Regions from separate parts of the Homo sapiens genome. Here region 1 is linked to region 2. Evidence: promoter capture Hi-C in 16 types of primary human blood cells and fetal thymus (Javierre and others, 2016). All regions are on one chromosome and are shown on one strand. Each heading gives the region's core, a stretch centred on a gene start or on the middle of the fragment in contact. The rest is flanking DNA. Distances are from core to core; before and after follow the strand shown. Region 1 has its middle 33 kb from the start of S100A6. Region 2 holds the start of SNAPIN (SNAP associated protein).

What was found. The method cuts DNA at HindIII sites, captures the fragments that hold promoters and counts their contacts. A CHiCAGO score of 5 or more calls a contact.
Region 1: a contact is called between a fragment that was not itself captured here and the fragment with the promoter of SNAPIN in region 2, in 5 of 17 cell types (M1 macrophages, M0 macrophages, megakaryocytes and 2 more). The highest score is 7.9, in M1 macrophages.

Annotation. Positions count from the first base shown.
Region 1 is chr1:153,500,612-153,504,637 of GRCh38, forward strand. It overlaps the pseudogene RN7SL44P. Among named protein-coding and RNA genes, the nearest start is that of S100A6, 33 kb to the right of the region's middle. The HindIII fragment of the contact is 1,175 bases long and covers 965-2,139 here.
Region 2 is chr1:153,656,690-153,660,869 of GRCh38, forward strand. SNAPIN (SNAP associated protein) reads left to right here and starts at 2,014. Exons shown (of 4, transcript NM_012437.6): 1 at 2,014-2,197; 2 at 2,449-2,495; 3 at 2,759-2,877. The coding sequence starts at 2,055. RefSeq lists an enhancer at 1,780-1,859. The HindIII fragment of the contact is 14,460 bases long and covers 1-4,180 here.

The sequences.
Region 1 (4,026 bases), core at 302-2,801, 160 kb before region 2:
TCCCAGGAGGTCACCATATTGATGTCAAACTTAGCGTGGACACCCAATTAATTGGCATAGTGCACTGCAGCCCAGGACTCATAGGCCCAAGAGATCCTCCCGCTTCAGCCTCCTGAGTAGCTGGAACTATAGGCACGCACCAGCACACCCAGCTAATTTTTTATTTTTTGTACAGACGGGGTCTCCCGTCTGGTTGGCCAGGCTGGTCTTGAACTCCTGGCCTCAAGCGACCCTCCCGCCTTGGCCTCCCAAAGTGCTGGGATTACAGGTGTGAGCCACTACACCCAGCCTGTTTTTCTTTTTAATACTTCCTCACCCTTTCCTTTGCTTTCTGCTTTCATTTTATGTGTCCTGTTTTGTTTTATCAGATGCTCTGGTTATTTGGAAAACATATTTTTCTCTCCATTTTCCCTGCATGTACTTTAAAGATTTTCAAAAACATTTTTACAAATATTATTCTAATCTTGAAAATTAAGAATAAATGTATATCCTTTTATTCTCCTCATGTAAAATGAGGAAATTAATACACTTTTACTCTTTCTCAATCTGCTTGCTACTTACTGGTGTCCAGCAATATGGCTTGTGACTTAAACTCTGATTCTTGCTAATTCTTTTTTCTTTTTTGAGAGGGAGTCTCGCTCTGTCGCCCAGGCTGAAATGCAGTGGCACAATATCGGCTCACTGCAACCTCCACCTCCCAGGTTCAAGCGATTCTCCTGCCTCCGCCTCCCGAGTAGCTGGAATTACAGGTGCCCACCACCACACCCAGCTGATTTTTGTATTTTAGTAGAGACGCGGTTTCACCATGTTGGCCAGACTGGTCTCGAACTCCTGACCTCAGGTGATCCTACCACCTCGGCCTCCCAAAGTTCTGGGATTACAGGTGTGAGCCACAGGGCCCAGCCTGATTATTGCTAATTAATTGTATTTTCATTTTATTTTTTCTTGAAATAATTATTTTTTAAGCTTACAGTAAATTTTATTATTATATTTCAATTATTTAGATCTAACAGTATGTTTAACCAGTTTTATTGGTTTACCATCAAGAATTCTAAGTCACCATTCCAGAATTCTTAAAATTTTTATTCATCTTTTAGCCAGTCTTGAAGTAATTTACTTCAAGAAGAGAACATGATTCTTTACTTCAAGAAGAGAATATTAGGGACCTTTGTATATCTAGGGATATTTTTCTGGTGTCCTCACAGATGGCTAGCTGCTTAATTATGTTTATGCAATTCTGAGGCACAACCTTTTCTTTCCTCAAAAACTGAAGATTTTGCTTATTTGTAACTTCTAAGAAATATGAGATTCACTTGAATTGCTCTTTTATAGGCAATCTTTTTATTTTCCTTTGAGCAATACTTTTGCCTGAGAGTGTCTAGGCATATCTGTGTTTTTATACATTTTGCCTGGGTTGCAGAGAGCCCTTTTGGTCTACACAAAATCTATGTGGTAGATGCTACAGCTCTAGAGAAAGTTGGCATTTGTTGTGGCTATTTACCTGCTGTCCATGCCTGTTGTGACTGACATCCAGCAATGTTGATGGACACTGTTAGGAGCTACTCTTATTGTAACAATGAGGGTGCCATGCACCACTCCCAGTATTCTCTTTCTTCTCTCTTACGTCTACTTTCTGCCCAATGATCCTTTATTCTCTTGTTAGATACAGAAATATTGGGAAGACCAAGGAAGAGCTCAGGGCTCTGGCTGCCTTATAGTGATAGGCAGATAGGAAGGCAAACACTAACATTAAATTAAATTAAATTAAATTAAATTAAATTAAATTAAATTAAATTAAATTAAAATATAAAATAAAATAAGCCCTACAAGGAGTTGTCTGTTTGGTAGTAACCCTATGTAGCCAGGAAGCTCCATCTTGCCCAAGTTGGGGCAGGGGATGGAAGACTACCCCTTCCATGCACCACCACCTCCCTCGGTTTCCAGGCCCCACCACCCATGTGGGCCTTTGGTGGGTGGGATGGGAGGCTCAGTGAAGTGTCCAGGCCCTATGTTCCTCCTGCTGGCACTGATCAGTGCTGGGAGGGCCATCTCAGGGCTAGAACTGTTCTGTGAGCTCAGTGCTCTCAGCTCCTGCCCCCACCAGTCGTCCCATATGGATTGGCTGGGGTCATGGTAGGAAGCTTAGGGAACGCTTACATATGCTTCCAAATCTTTATTATCTTGCACCTCTACCCTGGCTTTTTAAAATGCAAGCACCAGGACGGGCACAGTGGCTCACATCTGTAATCTCAGCACTTTGGGAGGCCGAGGCAGGTGGATCATGAGGTCAGGAGTTCGAGACCAGCCTGGCCAACATGGTGAAACCCCGTCTCTACTAAAAATACAAAAATTAGCTGGGTGTGGTGGTGCGCACCTGCAATCCCAGCTACTCGGGAGGTTGAGGCAGAAGAATCGCTTGAACCTGGGAGGCAGAGGTTGCAGTGAGCCGAGATCATGCCACTGAACACCAGCCTGGATGACAGAGTGAGTCAGCTCCGTCTCAAAAATTTAAAAAAAAAAAAAATTCAAGCACCAAAAGTGTGACACCTGTTTTTTCTGGTTCTTCACTAACCGCATTCACTAAAGCTGCCAGTGACGCTGGTCCAGCTGCCTGGATGCAGGACGGGCTCCAGAAACCATTCAGTGAAGCCTGGTTGGGAGAGAAAACACAAAGGGATCCCCACACCCTGTCTCTGGGCCCTCCCAGGAGCAGACCCTGTAGGACAGCAGTTCTCAAAATGTGGTCCCCAGAACGGCAGCAACAACGGCACCTGGGATCTTACTAGAAATACAGAGTCTCAGGCCACCACAGACCTGCTTGTGTTAGGACCTCTGGGATAGGGGCCCAGAGATCTGTGTTCTAACAAGCCCTCCGGTGATCCCAGTGCCCACTCAAGTGTGCAAATTACTGCGCAGTTACCAGGTGTCCTCCCACACTTTCACGGGCTGTAGAAACTAGTCTAAGAGAGAACGGAGCGCAGAGCACTGACCCAGGGTCTTCATATTTCCTTGTGCTTGCTGTTTGTTGGGCTGGGTAGTGTAGACATTTTGCCTTACTCCCTACCTTCAGGAGCCATTTCACAAGAATATGATGGTGTCACGGTCTGTGGGCCAGGTGCCTTTTAAATTGGAAGCTCTCTTTTAAGACTCAAGGCAGCTTTATAGGATAGATAATTGTATCCCATTGCTATGGCTTGAATATTTGGCCTCCCTAAAACTCATGTTGAAATTTAATCTTCAGTGTGGCAGTACTGGGAGATGAGGCCTGCAAAAGGTGATTGGGTCATGAGGTCCCTAGCCCCACGAATCCACTAATCCATTCATTCATGGATAAATGGATTAACGGATTAATGGGTGATCATGGGAGTGGGATTGGTGGCTTTATAAGAGGAGGAAGAGAGACCTGAGCCAGCGCACTCAGCCCCAGCACCACTTGATGCTCTGTGCTGCCTCAGAACTCTGCAGGGAGTCCCCACCAGCAAGAAGACCCTCACCAGATGCAGCCCCTTGACCCTGGACTTCTCAGTCTCCAAAACTGTAAGAAATAAATTCCTTTTCTTTATAAATTACCCAGTTTCAGGTATTCTGAAGCACCAAAAAACAGACTAAAACACTAGTTTTTCAGCTGATGAAACTAAGTCTCACAGAAGTTAGCTGCTCTTTCTAAGTCAAAGTCTAACTCCCTGCTGCCTTCTGCAATGCCATACTGCCTCACAGTGGCACTGCCATCTCAGCCTGGCACCAGATCACCTGGGTTTGCAACTCAGCCCTGGCACCAGCCCTGAGGCATGGCCACAGCTTTTCACTTCCCTGAGCCTCTGTTTCCTTACCTGCAAAATAGGGGTAAACCCAACCTGCCCAACCCACCTACCTCCCAGAGTCATTTGCAGGGCCAAGTGGGAAAAATGATCTTAATACAGTATTAATCTTTCCATTTCCCCAGGTGTGTGTGTGTTGGTGGAAAGCAGTGGTACAAGTGTGGGCAGAGGACAGTGACTCGAATAGTGAGGCAGAGGAGAGTCACCA
Region 2 (4,180 bases), core at 764-3,263:
TAGGAGGCTGAGGCAGGAGGATGGCTCGAGCCCAGAAGTTTGAGGTTACAGTGAGCTATGATAACATCACTGCACTCCAGCCTCAGCAACAGAGTGAGACCTTGTCTCTAAAAATGAAAGGAAAAATAAGTGAACTAAGGAAACTTTAAAATTTATTTTTATGGCCGGGCGCGGTGGCTCATGCCTGTAATCCTAGCACTTTGGAAGGCCGAGGCGGGTGGATCACGAGGTCAGGAGATCGAGACCATCCCGGCTAACGTGGTGAAACCCCATCTCTACTAAAAATACAAAAAATTAGCCGGGCGTGGTGGTGGGCGCCTGTAGTCCCAGCTACTCGGGAGGCTGAAGCAGGAGAATGGCATGAACCCGGGAGGCGGAGCTTGCAGTGAGCGAGATTGCACCACTGCACTCCAGCCTGGGTGACAGAGCAAGACTCGGTCTCAAAAAAAAATTTTTTTTAATTTTTATTTTTTGAGACAGGGTCTCACCCTGTCACCCAGGCTGAAGTGCATGCAGTGCCACGATCTTGGCTCACTGTAGCCTCAACTTCCTAGGCTCAAGGTCCTCCTACTTCAGCCTCCCAAGTAGCGGGGACCACAGCTGTGAGCCACCATGCCTGGCTAATTTTTTTTTTTTTTTTTTTTTTTGAGATGGAGTCTCGCTCTGTCGCCCAGGCTGGAGTGCAGTGGCGCGATCAGGGCTCACTGCAAGCTCTGCCTCCCGGGTTCACGCCATTCTCCTGCCTCAGCCTCCCGAGTAGCTGGGACTACAGGAGTCCGCCACTGCGCCCGGCTAATTGTTTGTATTTTTAGTAGAGATGGGGTTTCACCGTGGTCTCGATGTCCTGACCTCGTGATCCACCCGCCTCGGCCTCCCAAAGTGCTGGGATTACAGGCGTGAGCCACTGCGCCTGGCCGCCTGGCTAATTTTTTATTTCCTGTAGAGACAGAGTCTCACTAGGTTTGTTGCCCAGACTGATCTCGAACTCCTGGGCTCAGGTGATCCTCCCGCCTCAGCCTCCCAAAGTGCTGGGATTACAGGAGTGAGCCACCATGCCCTGCCTGCATGTTTATATTATTCAGCCTTAAAAAGGAATGAAATTCGGATACATGCAGTTTTTTACATATTTAATGCCATTAAAAATATACTCTTTAGAAATAGACCAGGCGTGGTGGCTCACGTCTGTAATCCCAGCACTTTAGGAGGCTGAGTTGGGAGGATCACCTGAGCCCAGGAGTTCGAGACCAGTCTGGGCAACAAACATAGTGAGACCTCTTCTCTACAGAAAATGAAAAATTAGTCAGGCATGGTGGCTAACACCTGTGGTCCCTGCTACTTGGGAGACTGAAGCAGGAGGACCTCTTGACCCCAGGAGGTGAAGGCTACAGTGAGCCAAGACGGTGGCACTGCACTCCAGCCTAGGCGACAGAGAGAGACCTTGTCTTAAAAACAACCAACCACAATAAACTCTTTAGAAATAGAAAACGATACTATGAATATAATGTGGCTTTCTCATAAAGTGTTTTTGTTTTTGGTTTGTTTTTGTTTGGTTTGGGTTGCTTTTTTTTTTTTTTTTTTTTTTTTTGAGGCGGAGTCTCTCTGTTGCCCAGACTGGAGTGCAGTGGCGCGATCTCGGCTCACTGCAATCTCCGCCTCCCGGGTTCAAGCGGTTCTCCTGCCTCAGTCTCCCAAGTAGCTGGGTGCCCGCCACCATGCCCGGCTATCTCATAAAGTTAACATGGGAAGGCTATGGACAACTGCAGGTATTCGCGTTTATTTTCACCTTTAAAGAAAACGAAAAGTATCCACTCCAAAAACTGGTTCCTTTCTACAACCTGAACTTTGGAGATTTTCAAGACCAGCCACAAGGCCTCTACTCCTACGGCCTGGCCCTCCTCCCCGCCCGGTTCGCGCTAGACTCCATTTCCCAGAAACCCCGGTGTCTTGGTGGAGACAGCATTTCCCGGGCGCCCCCTCACGGGGCGGGGCAGTGCGGCGCGGCTCCGGTTCCCGGCGGCCCTCGCGGCAGGTTTCGGGCTTCAGGACAATTCGTGATGGCGGGGGCTGGTTCCGCCGCTGTATCGGGGGCAGGGACCCCGGTGGCGGGGCCCACAGGCCGCGACCTTTTCGCCGAAGGGCTGCTGGAGTTCCTGCGACCCGCTGTGCAGCAGCTCGACTCTCACGTACACGCCGTCAGGTGCCCGGGAGGGAAGTTGGGGGCGGGGCCTGTCTCTCTGGCTTTGTAGGGGCGGGGCCAAGAAAGTGTTCTGGCTGGGAGTGGGCATAAATTTAGGAAACTGATTCGAGGCGGGGAGGACAGGCGGGAAGGCCGCAGGTGGAGGGTTCAGCGGAGGCCGGCTTCTCTCAGTACTTGGTAAATACGTAGGGGAGTTCGTTTCCTGAGCTCCGGTAACTGCCTGACCTTGTAGGCCTTGTACCTCTTTGCAGAGAGAGCCAGGTAGAGCTCCGGGAACAAATTGACAACCTAGCCACAGGTGAGTGAGCATCCCTGTGTACCCGGAATTCTTCAGCCCACTTTCAGGACCTTAGGTTTTTGCCAACCCCTGGGCTGAGTTTCTGTCACTTGCTTCCAGGGCATCAGGGCTGCCAAAGGACTCCTCCTTTCAGGGATGTCTTAAATCTCTAATGGCTGTGGCCCGTTTGGGTGCAAGTGTTTTCCATCCCATTACCAGCCTGCTTTCCCTCAGAACAAGAGATAAGCCGTTAGATCTTAGCTGCACCTTACTTCCATCCCCAGAACTGTGCCGCATAAATGAGGATCAGAAGGTGGCCCTGGATCTTGACCCCTATGTTAAGAAGCTACTTAATGCCCGGCGACGCGTTGTCTTGGTTAACAACATTCTACAGAATGCTCAGGTAAAAGAATATCTTACCAACAGTGATTCTTTGCCCTTTTTTGTAAGTCCTCAACACAGTGAAAGCCACTGTAATTTTAAAATTCTTTGGGGAAAGGGAAATTCACTTCTCCCAGTACTTGAAAAATACCTAGGAAAATTCGTCTCATTCTCACTATTCAGTTGCTGCCATTTACATTCTTGTGTGTGTGTGTGTGACAGTCTCCCTCTGTCACCCAGGCTGGAGTGCGGTGGCTCAATCTCAGCTCGCTGCAACCTCCGCCCCCTGGGCTCAAGCAATTCTGCCTCCGCCTCCCGAGTAACTAGGACTACAAGCGTGCACAACGCCCAGCTAATTTTTGTATTTTTTTGTAGAAGTAGGGTTTCTCCATGTTGCCCAGGCTGGTCTGGAACTCCTGGGCTCAAGTGAGCTTCCCACCTTGGCCACCCGAAGTGCTGAGACTACAGGAGTGAACCACCACACCTGGCTATTTATTTTTATGATACAAGGTCTATCACCCAGGATGGAGTGCAGTGGCATGATAAAGGCTCACTGCAGCCTCTACCTCCCAGGCTCAAGCGATCCATCCACCTCAGCCTCCCAAGTAGCTGGGACTACAGGCATGCACCACCATGTCCAGCTAATTTTTGTATTTTTTCTAGAGACAGGGTTTCACCATGTTACCCAGGCTGGTCCCAAACTCCTGCATGCGAGTGATCCACCTGCCTGGGCCTCCCAAAACGCTGGGATTACAGGCGTGAGCCACTGCACCCGGCCTGCCTGGCCTTTTTTTTTTTTTTTTTAAATAAAAAGACAGGATCGGCTGGGCGCGGTGGCTCTTGCCTGTAATCCCAGCAGTTTGGGAGGCCGAGGTGGACAGGTCACCTGAGGTTGGGAGTTGGAGACCAGCCTGACCAACATAGAGAAACCCCGTCTCTACTAAAAATACAAAATTAGCTGGGCGTGGTAGCGCATGCCTGTAATCCCAGCTACTTGGGAGGCTGAGACAGAAGAATCACTTGAGCCCGGGGGACGGAGGTTGCGGTGAGCTGAGATCGCACCATTGCACTTCAGCCTGGGCAACAAGAGCGAAACTCCGTCTCGGGAAAAAAAAAAAAAAAAAAAAAAGACAGGCTATCACTATGGTGCCCAGGCTGTTCTCAAACTGGGCTCAAGTGATCTTCCTGCCACTTCCTCCTAAATGGTGCTGGGATAGGCATGAGCACCATGCCTGGCCTACATTTTTTTTTTTTTTTGAGATGGAGTTCTCCCTCTGTCACCCAGGCTAGAGTGCAGTGGCACGATCTCATTTCATTGCAACCTC